Linked DNA regions of Homo sapiens: region 2 is linked to region 1. Evidence: promoter capture Hi-C in human tissues and cell types (Jung and others, 2019). All regions are on one chromosome and are shown on one strand. The core of a region is centred on a gene start or on the middle of the fragment in contact, and the rest is flanking DNA. Distances in the headings are between cores, read along the strand shown. Region 1 holds the start of ACSL6 (acyl-CoA synthetase long chain family member 6). Region 2 overlaps ACSL6 (acyl-CoA synthetase long chain family member 6).

Region 1 (6,379 bases), core at 2,201-4,700:
CTGCAATCTCCAAACCCCTGGGGTGGCCCTAGACCTCAAGTCAGTTCTCTGTCCTAATGGGAGCCCAGAGTGGGGTAAGGGGAGGATCTCACAGGCCTGAACTAAGCCAAAGTGTGCAAGTCTATGCTTGCCCTAGGCATCTATAGCCAGGAGCATGCCAAACCATTCTTTAGACGGGCAACTTTGTCTCGCCCCACCAGGGCCAGCCCCACTTCTCCTAAGGCAGAGGCCAGGGGTGGGGGCTTATCTCTTCTCCTTACTGGAGCCCAGCCATGACTCAAGCCATCCTTGGACCACATCTATTCTTATCCATAACATCATAACGACCTCCTACTACCCTCCTGGACTCCACTCTCTTCCTCTTGACTCAGCAGCTAAATGGAGGGATCCTCTACCATCCAAATAAAACCTTCTCCAGAATCCTCTCCCACAACCCACATTGCTCAGGCACAAGACCTTGAAGACTCATCCCCCATTGCAGTTCTTCCACAAACTCTGCTAGTCTGGCTTCCTCCACTTGGATCTTGGCCTCCCTATCTCTGACAAATTCCCCTGAATGCTGCAGAAGCCCACTCATATGTCACTGATGGTTGGGTATATGATTGAACAGATTAGACCCTGCGGCATGGGGCTGCCTTAGCCTAGAGGAAGGTGTGCCCTTTTAGAAAGTTATCCACCAAGAGTGAGACTTCTTCCTACTTTGCACAAAGGTGCTGTACAGGCAGGCAGAAGCTCTGATCCTCTGCTCCCATTGTCCTCTAGGTGTTTATGGCACTGAGGGCATGCTTCCCCAAGCCAGACCTAGCATCTGACTCATGCTGGACTTATTTTACTTGTCTCCTTGTTTAGTATTCAACACACAGGTGAGATCTGGGCTGGCCCAGGACTCATTGCTGGCCTCTCCAGCAGGCAACAGGACAGACACAGCCCAGAACAGATGGCTACCTCCCACAAACAACAGTCAGCTCCTCCTCCTGGTGCATTGCCACACCCCCATCCCCGACTTTATGTCATCTCTCCCTGAGGGCCCTTGAGGGAAACCCTTGCCTGGCCCTACCTTGTCTCCCTAGGGCCAGGTTAGGTGGCAAAAAGCACATAACTCTACTAAAGAGAGACATTGCCTCCTGTTACTGGCTGAGTGGAAGGGATCTGGCAGCTGCCGTGGGACCATGGGACCCTGGAGATGACAAGGCAGAGCATGTTCTCAGGTGTGCTCACAGAACTACAGCTCTTAACTCAGGAGTCTCTTCTGCCACCAGAGAAAGGCTGGGGGCCAGGTGGAGTCTCAAGGAGGGTGGATACATAACTTAAAATGCCCCAGCAATTGTCTGGGTTATTCTATCCAATAAGCACCATAGACCAGCCTCAGCCTCTTGCTTTTTGCATTGGGAAGCTCGGCCTCTGTGGAAGCAGCCACTACCTGCCCCAAGAATCGCTCCTGCTTGACGGTTCTGAGGCCCTGTATAGTCTCTCAGTGAGGCAGATTCCCCAGTTTCCCATTAGAGGAGGGAGCTGACCACTTTAGGAAATGCTCCACAAGGAAACAGGACTCCACTTTGAGTCAGTGCCAGCTAACCCTGCTCACAGACAAGGACCCCACAGGGTGAGGGACTTTTTCTCACAGGCTGCTGATGACCCCGGTCACAAGTGGTCTTGCAGCCCCTAGACACCTCCCTGCAGCCACAGAAGATCAAGTCTTCAGAGAGCTGACCTTGGACCCATGGTTGGGTGGGGCCTCCTGAGGGTAGGGCAAAGGGGTCCTGGCAGTGGGGAGAGGCTCTGAGACCATCCATCACTCAGGCATTAAATGGTGGCTGTTACGACCACCATCACCATTATTTTAATTATCCTTGCCCTTTACCTCCAACCCCAGCTCTAGCCCTGCCCTTGTCTGCTGGATGTGCCTCAGGACCAGAGTGCCCCTGCACAGCCAGTCACAGACACTGGCAGACAGAAGGAGCTTAGGGAGCTGAGGGGATTAGGGAGGCTTCACTCACTCTCCCAGCTCAGGGGAAGTGTCCCTGTGGCCTAACTTAAGGAAATGGTGGGGGTGAAGGAAGTGATTACTAGGCCCACCAACCCTCCAGGTTCAGGCCTGATCCAGCCAAGCACTTAGCATTGGTTGATCAATTAAAACCTCGAATGGAATCCCAGTCTGCCAAATATCCATGTGACACTAGGCAAGTCAATTGACCTCTGAACTCAGTAAAAAAAGGGATGGTGCCACCGACCTCCTAGGGTTTTCCATGAATATTAAATAACACGTACAAAGCCTCAGGTAAAGATTTCAAGAGGGTCAACTTCCTCCCCTTCCTTGGCTCAGAAAAAGCTTTATTACCACTTCTGATGGTGCTGTTTGAATGTGAGATAATAATAAACACTAACATTCATAGAGCATTTGCTGTGGCCTAGGACAGGTTTAAGGCCAATTTAAGGATCAAGCACTGCACACAAATTATCAGGCTGAATCTGCACATGGGGGTTGGGGTGGAGGTGGAGATCCTTTAGTGGTATTATACTCTGGAGGACCCCAGGCTCAGAGAGGGGAAGTAGCCGGTGCAGGTGGTAGAACTGGCAGATAAAAGGGCCTGTGGTGAGACTCCAGGTGTGGGTGTATGGGGGGTTGAGGGAGGTAAGCGCGGAGGCGGGATCGAGCAGGGGTCCTTGTAGCCGCCTAAGAAGTGCAGTGGTGAAGCTGACTCCTGTGAGGTGGAGGGGAGGGGTCTGGAAACAGTGGAGACACAGCAGCCCTGGGCAGAGCAGAGGAGCCAGGTGAACCCTACCTTACAGAAATCTTGTACTCTGGCTGAAGGACGGGCAGGGAGGGGTCGTGAGGAAGCCCCTCGCCGGGATCAGGAAGCCTAGGTCAGTCCGGGTTACATAGCTGACCTGCTGTGGGACCTCGGGGACCAACACCCTCGGTTTCTGGTCCCAGGAGATGGACAAGGACGCAATGTCTGTTCCTGGCCTTGGCTCAGGGCCTAATCTGATCCGCGGATGGTCCTTGCCATCAGGGAAGGGGGACGCAAGAACTCGGCGGGGGTTTGTGGTGGGGTCGCAGAGAGCAAGCCCTATATCTCCCTCCGCAGACCCAGGTGCTCCCCAAACCCGGCCCGGAGCCCGCGAGAACTGGGGGCGGAGGGTGTACTTAGGCGGCCCTGGGGACCTTGACGGGACAGCTCAGCAGCAGGGGATGGGGGCTCGGCGGCCGCGGAGATGTAACACCTCCACCTCGGGCGAAGACCTCATAGCCTGCGGGAGATGGGAGTCCGGGACGCGGACAGGACGGGCACTTACCTACGAATAGCCAGAGGGAGCCCCCCGACACGAGGAAGAAGGTCAGCATGGCGGTCAGCGGGGCCCGGCCCGGCCCGGCCCGGCCTCCCCGACCCGCAGCCCCGCAGCCCCGCAGCCCAGCAGCCCCAGCAGTAGCCGCGCCGCCGCCGCCGCTGCCGGGTATTTTTAGCCCCCGCCCTCCGGCCCCGCAGCTCCCGCCTCCCCGCGCCGCTGCGGAGACGGCTCAAGGGGGAGGGCGCGGCGCGCACTCGCAACCGAGCCTTACTCCCTGCCCTGCAGCCTGGCCGGCCGGGTCTGGGGCTTGCCCCGCACTGACCGCGGTGTCGGAACCGCCAAGCTCCCGGGCGGGGGAGGGGCCCGGCCGCAGAGCGAACCAGCCCTCTCCGGCCCCGCTCTCCAACGTCAGTACCTGGCATTCTGCGGAAACCGGCTGGAAGGGGGAGCACGGGCGACGAGCGCCAGAGCGTGACATTGAGCCCACCCCGCCGCCACCCACCCCATCAACACGCGACCCTGCCCCCGCGCGACTCGCAGCCTGGGTTTTATGGCTGGGCAGGCTCGAATGGCAGCCGGGTCGCGGTTACCTGTCCTAGGAGGTGCACACTCCTGTGGGCTGTTGCCCGCTGACACCAACGCCCCCTAGGACCCGAGTTTGCAGACATGGGGAGCCTCCGGGTGCCACCTCTGCAAACCAGTGAGGGGAGGGAGTGGCAAGTGTTCACCTAGGCTCTGACAAATCAGGCAGCTAGACCAGATAGTGCCCAGATCATCTGGGGACGCACGAGTTCAGGTCTGAGGCTACGCAAGGTCACAGGAGACTCAGTGTGATCACAGGCTGCCATATGTGTTCACCAGTAGTAACATGGTCACAGGCAGCCACATGGAATCACAGGTGTCTCATGAGGAAATCATGATCTTCGTACACAACTGTATGTGGCACACGAGGTCTCAAGAAGCCCCTCATAGCCACAATAAATGGCCATATAGCCACACACAGCCACAGATGCCCACACTGCTGGGCTGAGGGCTTGGACACCTGTTGCAGTGTCTGCCATTGAAAGGAGGAAGCCCAGTTGCACATTTTCTGAAATAATAAGGGTAGGCATCCTGGTGGGCACCCCATGAACATCTGCACCTCCAAGCAAGATCACCTCTTCCCAATGCCCTTGCTTGTTTTCCTCAAGCATGCAGAGCCCACCAGGACTCCAGCACCGAGGACAGCGCTCAGGCAGCCGGGCCTTCTCTATACGCAGCCCTCCCAGGCCAGGAGCTGGCTGAGCCACAGCCCAGAAAGAAGAGGATAGAAAACCAGAGAGCAGAAGTCAGGAAGCAGAGAGTGGAAGAGCATGAGATCTCTTCAGGCCCACCAGAGACCATCAGCCATGAGTGCATGTGGGCTCACAGCTCAGCAGCTGGGTGTGTGGGGGGGCCTGTATCTGTAGTACGAGTACATGGCATGTGTGTGCCCAGGCCTGTGTGCACCTTGTAGTGGTGCAAGTGTGCAGATGTGTGCCTCTGAGTCACTTCCAATCTTTACAATAGGATCCTACACCTTCTCCATCATAGGATCTGGACTCCTGGGAGAGCTGCTCCAGCTTGAACTCAGCCACAGCCTGGCAGGGACTTTGCTGGGATCTCAAGCTTGGCAGGGCTCCTCCAAGAGGGTGTGACAGAGGCTGTATGGCAGGACTCCTCCCAGCAAGTAACATGGCTTTGAGAATCCCCCCACCCCACCCATACACTCCCACTGGCAGCAGAGTAACTGGAGATCTGCTAGTACTGAAGAGGAGACCCAGGGGAACCAGAAGCCTGGGCAGAAAGAACATATCTCCCCAGACCAGATTGGTCTAGGGAGGTGGTCAGGTAATTTCCCCATAGGCCAGTGGTTCAACAGAGCATTTCTTCACAGAGCAGGGGGCCAGGAGCCAGGCTGCAAGCCTCAGGCCTCTGCGGCACTCAGCTGCAGGAGCACTCCGGGCCCTATGCGGCTCTGGCAGCCTCCTCTTCAGAGTGATGTCATGGGACACATTTAGCTTGGCCTCCAGCAGGATGTCGCATCCCGTTACTCTCCCTACAGATGTCTCTGCTACTTGTGAATATTTTAATTCAAAAACCAGTACTGGAGCTGTGACTGATTCTAGCTTAGCCAAGTATTTTTCTGTTTTCCTCTGAGCATGGCTTGGCTTCCCCTGAGAGATGGGGACAGAAAGGCCCTAGCCTGGTTGTGGGATCATGGCCAGGTCTCTCTCCTCTCTAGGCCTGTTCCTTCCACTGAGTAATGGGACTTGTTCTTTCCTGTCCTGAGTTCCCAAGGTCTTCTTCCTTCTCTGTGAGTCTCAATCTGTGGACCATCTGCAGGCATGGGTAGACGCTGTGACTCAGGCCCTAGACTGCATGGGTGTGGCATCCATGGAACCCAGGGCCCAGAAATGCCCAGGCCAGGCTGGGGAGCCCTTGGATATCCCTCTTGGTCCTTAGCCAGCAAATCCAGCCACCTTAGCGGCCAGCCATGTTCACACATATCTCCTCCCAGACTAGCATCTCTAAGTGGGTTGGCAGGCAGGAGCCTAATCATCTATTTGCAGCCCTGGCTTGGGGTCTGGCCCAAAGAATGCAGAGGATATTATCCCATTTGACAGAGCAGAAGACTGACGTTGGGAAAGGCGAACAACTGTCTTAGGTCACACAGCAGTTCTGGGCTCCTGACTCCCATTTATTCATTTTTCATTCATTCTCTCCTACATTTTGATAGTTTCCCAAGTTGCAAGTGTCTCCGGTAGAATCCAGAAAACTCACTTTTCCAGCTTCCTTTGCAGCTAGGAGTGGATTAGTGACTTAGACTGTACCAATGAAACACACTCTCATGAGCCTTCGATAAAAAAGCCAGAAATGAGTGAAAGAAAGTCATGCACATGGCATCTACGTTGCTGGCACAAGGGTGGTAACAGAAGCCATGGATGGTGGATGATTCTGGGAGTCATTTCAGAAACTGAAATTTGAGCCTGTTTCTTGAAGTGCCCCAAAAGTTGAGCCTTTTAGAAGTGAACATGTTCTTTAATGTACTCTTTTTCTGATTAAAACA
Region 2 (6,379 bases), core at 1,829-4,328, 48 kb before region 1:
GCCCCAAGATACCAACCTTATTTGTGCAGAGATCTGCATATGTTCCTTCAATTCCTCTCTTCTGGGCCCAGGAGGGCATAACTTCAGGGTCAGGCACAACAATGCCTACCAAAAAGGCCTGCAGTGCTCACCAAAGGAGAACACAGTCATGACAAATGCATTTAAAGTGGTTATTTGTGGTCCAGCATTAAAATTCTCAGACTCCACCTTTTTCAAAAACTAAGTATATGTTTATAAAACATTTGTTGATGTCATGAAATCTTTCTGCCAATATATCATACCATTCATTTTCTGATATATTCCCCTAGTTTTATATGAAAAAATAAGGACATTAAGAATCAGTAAAGTTAGACTGATATGCACCTTTGATTCTCATGCCAATCTCAAATCAGCACATCTTCAGGAGGCTGAGCAAACAACTCTCTGATCCAAATTCTCTGAACCAAAATGTTTCCCAGGATTACCAAACCACGTTGAAATGGTTTCATTAATACGATCTTCATTCATGAAAGACTTCATTTTGTTTATTTTTTTCTTTTGAGACAAGGTTTCACTCTGTTGCCTAGGCAGGAGTTCAGTGGTATAATCATGGCTCACTGCAGCCTCGACCTCCTGAGCCCAAGTGATCCTCCCATCTCAACCTCCCGAGTAGCTGGGACTACAGGTGCATGCCACCACATGTAGCTAATTTTTGTATTTTTTGTAGAGATAGGGTTTAACCATGTTGCCCAGGCTGGTCTTGAACTTCTGGGCTCAAGTGATCCTCCTGCCTCGGTCTCCCAAAGTGTTGGGATTACAGGCGTGAACCACCATGCCAGGCCTATTTTGATTTTTAAAGCATTTCTTTGAAAATAATTTCATAATATTTATAGAAATGCAATGATAGTACAGAATATATTTGATATCAGGCAGGGCATGGTGGCTTATGCCTGTAATCCCAGCACTTTGGGAGGCTGAGGCAGGCACAACACTTGAGGTCAGGAGTTCAAGACCAGCCTGGCCAATGTGGTGAAACCCTGTCTCTACTAAAAATAAAAAAAAAATATATCCAGGTGTGGTGGTGGGCGCCTGTAGTCCCAGCTACTCGGGAGTCTGAGGCAAGGGAATCACTTGAACCCTGGGGGTAGAGGCTGCAGTGAGCCGAGATTGTGCCACTGCACTCCAGCCTGGGTGACAGAGTGAATATATTTGATATCTTAGATATCATAGAATATACTCATGATCTTTCTGACTTTAAATCTAAATAGTATTGAAAGGAAAATAAGTATAAAACTCCTCCAAATAACTGAATCCTAGTAACCTATATTAGTATTAGTACCATTAGTACATTTTTTTGCAGTACTCATTAATTTGTAAAGTTCATTTGCATATTAAAAAAATCAAAACAGGCCAGGTGTGATGGCTCATGCCTCTAATCCCAGCACTCTGGGAGGCTGAGGCAGGAGGAGAATCACTCGAGCTCAGGAGTTCGAGACTAGCCTGGGCAACATAGTAAGACCTTGTCTCTACTAAAAATTAAAAAAAAAATAGCTGGGCATGGTGGTGTGCACCTGTAGTCCCAGCTATTGGGGATGGGGAGGGAGGGGGAAGGGGATGAGGTGGGAAGATGGCTAGAGCCCAGGAGGGAGATTGAGGCTGCAGTGAGCCATGATTGTGCCACTGTACTCCAGCCTGGGTGAAAGAGCGAGACCCTGTCTCAATAATAATAATAGTAATAATAATTTTTAAAATAAAAATAAAAACAGTAGAAACCCTGAATCTTGCTCTAGTATTTTATCTCAAAAATCCTTGGAAGTAAGTAGAGCATAAGTGAAAAGGAATGGGAATGTTCATTAGTACTACTTCAGACAATTTACTTGACCTAATTACATTTTAACAAACTATAAGTAAGATTTCTCCTTTAAAAAGGAGTTTTCTCTCATGTTTTAAAATGCGGAGGAGAATCCTGGTGCCTGATTGGAGGTTAATGTTTAATCTGGGTTTTTCAGCATGCCCAGGATATGTGGGAGGGCTGAAGCCTAGAGGCCTCACCTTTAAGCTGTCCCCATGGACATAGATTTGCGCCACAGGTTGGCTCCGGATGTAGATGTTCTCAATCTTCTCGGGTGCAACATATTCTCCCTGAGCAAGTTTAAATATATGCTTTTTCCGATCAATAATTTTAAGAGTTCCTGCCTGTAGAGTTGGACAAACAGCTTTATAAGAACATGGCACTCTCAAGCCTGAACCTTTGCTCCTCAGTGCCGTAACTCCCTGCCCTACCCCACCCTGCAGACCCCACCCCGATTTCTTTTCCATCTGTTGTGTCTGCTCTTAGGGAGCTGCAGGGCTCCTGGAGAGAACCACTGTACACCGCAGGTTGATGGCATCCAAGTTCTGCTGGGCCGTGAGCATCCACTGTCCTTTCCCCTCAGCAGTTAGCCCCCCACACAGTCCTCCCACCACTGCCACCCTCATGCCTAGCAGCAGGTATCCTCACCTCCTCCTTCTTGGAGGCCCACCGCCCTTCCATCAGGGCACCCCTCTTGCACACACCCTTGTTCCAGGTGCCCTTTTTCTCACCAGCATCTTTGGTTCACTCCCTTAGACCACACTCAAGTCTCTTGCCCAGCTACTGTCTCCACCCCTAAAGAGCAGCCTCTGCATCCCCTGGCATATAGCACAGACCTGACAGAGCCCCTGTGACTCCTACCTGACATGCCAGATGGCACTAGGAGCCCAGGCCCCTGTAGGACTTCTGCAGCAGGCAGATCACCTCCTTGGACAGGGAGTGCTGATGCCACTGGCCTCCAGGACCCGTCCTCACCTCCCTGACTCTCCTTGACCTTTCTGAGCTTCCAAGGTGATTACGTGGGCCTCTTTCCCCTCACCGCCACTGACAATGCACCTTGGAGTAACCACCGTTTTCTCTTCATTGGTCACTCCCAAGTCAGTTCAAGCTTCCAGCTCTTCACTGAGCTCCAGATCCAGAACCCAAATACCCTTGGAATGCTTCAAAAACTAGGCTATTTGTCTCAGAGGATGTAACATGCTCCTATATGAAACTCACGACCAAGCTTCTCAAGCCTGCCCCAGCCTCCAAACCCCAAACCTGGAGATGACCTTGTTGTTTGCCTCTCCTGGGATCTCCAGTGGTCAGGCTCACCTGTCCTTGCTCACAAATCCATCTCATATCCACCACCTCCTCCCAGCAAAACCACTTTCTGACTGGACTTCTGCACACACTCTGTCTCCACTCCATCTGCTTGATCTGCCAGTGCCAGAGCAATCTCTCCAAAAGAGAAAAATGAGCAGACTCTGTTTTGCTCAAAACCCAGGCTAGACATCAGGCACTTTCCCTACCCCAGCTTATTTGGTCCTCATGGTCCATTAGCTGGGTGTTGTCACCTCTGTTTCACAGATGAGGAAAATGAGGATCAGAAAGCTTAGTTAACTCCTCCAAAGCCACACAGCTAGAAGTTGGGGAACCAGGATTTGAATCCCGATCCTTCTGGACCAGAAGACTATGCTTATTCCTTGATCTATTTAACATGATTTCAAAATAACGTTTTTAAAAGCACAAATGTCTTTATAGATGATTTCTACCTAAATTTCAAGAATGAATCATTCAAAGCTTGAACATACTCTTCCAAAAAAATGGGGAAAAAACCCACTTACCAACTCATTCAATAAGCTGACAACAAAACCATAATAGGGTTGTATATAAAAGGAAAATTACAGATCAATCTCATTTGTGAATATAAATGGAAAGGTCAAACACAATTTTTAGGAAAAATATTATTTAAAAAGTCACATCATGATTAAGTTGAATTATGTCAAGAATGCATGATTTGCTTTACATGAGAAATATAGAATAATAAGTATCTCAATAGCTGCAATAAATTTTAATTAAATTTCAAAAATCATTTAAAAATAATAATTTAAAAAATGGACTCTCACAGACTACCTGCCTGCAACTTTAGGCCCTGTGCTCAAGCACAACACTAAGTGCTTTACATGAATTCATTTATTTGCTTCATATTACCCCCTAAATGGTGAATGGTTTCATTCAAGTTACAGGGCATCAGCAGCAGATCCAGGGATTTGTGAGACTTCAAGCTTTTACAATATTGAGGGCCCTTTCTAAGAAAAACCAGGTAAAATGAAGTGCAGGGCCTTGGAAGGGGCTGATGCAAGTGAGGGGGCTTGAAGCCTAAGCTCCCTGAGCCAACAGGACAATCCACCTTCTGCAGATGTTCAGGACCTGCTGACCTCTCTAGCCTCTCTCTCCCACACCTATGGGTCTTCAGTTGGAATTAGTTGCTTCCCATGTCTAGTGCCTCTACTCAGCATATATTACTATCACGCCCTGATTGTCCTTCCCAATCCCACCTTTGGAACATGACTCATATCCTAAGGCTTGGATGCAGTAGGTGCCTGTCCTCCTCTGCCTCTCCCGAGGTGAGTGTGCCCCCAGTGTGCCCCCAGCTCATGCCCATCACATTGGGTTGGGAACTGTCTAATCATGCATATCTCCCCTAAGCAGAGTCCCTGGGCCAGGGCACTCACTGGAGATACATCTTTGTCTGGGGCAGGCATGAGGGTTTCTCAAAGGGAAGTACACAGGCCCAAGCAGGGGCAGATCCATTTACCAGCCCACTCAGCCTGCCTTGGGCTCAACATCATTCACGTGCCTCATTAACTCAACACCTCAAAATGTCCACCCAAACCTTAGCACTTCCCAAAGACACAGGAGAGTTTCCTGGGGTGGGCTGCTCCAGGCAAGAGTGCTCAGTGTCAGTGACAGCCGTTTTCTGGTCAAAGCATTCATCTAAGCATCTCCTATGTGCCCGGTACTGTGCTAAGTGCTTTGTAGGCATAATCTCATTTGTTCCTCACAAAAATAACTTTATTTTTCTTTCTTTTATTAAAACATTTTTAAAAGATAAAATCCAGGCTGAGTGCAGTGGCTCATGCCTGTAATCCCAGCACTTTGGGAAGCCGAGATGAGCAGATCAGTTGAGGTCAGGGGTTTGAGATCAGCCTGGCCAATGTGTTGAAACCCTGTTTCTATTAAAAATACAAAAAAGTTAGCCAGATGGGATGGCGGGCACCTGTAGTCCCAGCTGCTGGGGAGCCTGAGGCAGGAGAATCGCTTGAACCTGGGAGGTGGAGGTTGCAGTGAGTCAAGATCTCGTCACTGCACTCCAGTCTGGGTGACAGAACGAGACTCCATTTCATAAATAAATAATAAAGGATAAAGTCCAGATCTTGCACAACACAACAATAATTTCAGAGGTAAGCAACACTGTGATCCCTATTTTAAAAATGAGAGAATGAGGCAAAGTGGTTTTGGCTAAAAGCTGGGGGCCATGGGCAAGGAATGCTATGAAGGCTTGTTCTCCTGTTCTATAAGTGAGTCAAGGTGAAGCCACAGACGGGGATGAGGCTCTGCTCAAGGTTACATGAGCAACTGCTGGCAAAGCCACAGGAACTAAGGCATTCTCCCTCCTGTCTCCAAGCTTTCCCCTTCACTCAGTGCCACCTTTTGGCTGCGGGCCAGCATTGGAGGGCTTGCAGGCCTTGCCCTTCTCAGACGTCCTAGAGACATGTACCCCCTGTTCCTCCTACTTCACATCAGATTCCACACACTGTCAGATGTCTTTCTGGAAACCATTAAGGATAGGAATTCAGTCTCCAAGACCTCAGCCACACCCACCTGCACAGGTCCCTCATCACCTTCATGAGACGGAGTGAGAAGAGGAAGATGCTCTGGGGCTCAGGGAAGGAAGAGCCTCCCCCCAGGCCCCAGAGGTGCTCCTGAATGACTCATTGTCAGGGGGGATTTGGAGAAGACTCCTGCCTCAGTGACCCGGACCACACACCCTCCCACTGCCAAATGTTTGGAGCTCCGTGGTTCCAAACATACACACCGGCAGCCATTTTCCGATGTCTCCAGTGTGAAGCCAGCCATCGCTGTCCAGGGCCTCCTTCGTCCTGTCTGGATCTTTCAAGTAGCCTTTGAACACATTTGGTCCTCTCACACATATCTATGGGACAAAAACCATGGCTTCTCTCAGCCACATCATGAGGAATCAGGAGATGGGAAGCTGTCACCAGGCATACGGAGATAAGGTGCACTACCCATCAGGAAAGCCACTGTGGATATGGCAGGGATGGAAACAGAGGACAAGGAACAGCCAGCAGCCATCTGAACTGTCTCCTGCCTTCTGTCAAGCAACATCCTCCCCATCTTTCCCCCCTGCCCTGGCCACCCTAGGCCTTTGTCATCTCTTCTCCCTCAGGAGCCCTCTGGCCTTGGCCACATGCTGCTCTGTGACACTTGATGGGGACTCATCACAGATATTGATGGCTGGCTGATTCTACCAGGGATGCTTCA

The links. The method cuts DNA at HindIII sites, captures the fragments that hold promoters and counts their contacts. A contact is called where the count stands out against the background at its distance.
Region 2: a contact is called between a fragment that was not itself captured here and the fragment with the promoter of ACSL6 in region 1, in 1 of the 25 tissues and cell types used here (aorta).

The regions. Positions count from the first base shown.
Region 1 is chr5:132,008,208-132,014,586 of GRCh38, forward strand. It overlaps ACSL6 (acyl-CoA synthetase long chain family member 6), which reads right to left and starts at 3,451. Exons shown (of 21, transcript NM_001009185.3): 1 at 3,298-3,451. The coding sequence starts at 3,346. LOC124901062 (a long non-coding RNA gene) reads left to right here and starts at 3,249. Exons shown (of 2, transcript XR_007058933.1): 1 at 3,249-3,338. The HindIII fragment of the contact is 8,903 bases long and covers 94-6,379 here.
Region 2 is chr5:131,960,504-131,966,882 of GRCh38, forward strand. ACSL6 (acyl-CoA synthetase long chain family member 6) reads right to left here. Exons shown (of 21, transcript NM_001009185.3): 17 at 5,913-6,029; 18 at 2,032-2,175; 19 at 17-118. Among named protein-coding and RNA genes, the nearest start is that of MEIKIN, 18 kb to the left of the region's middle. The HindIII fragment of the contact is 3,442 bases long and covers 1,358-4,799 here.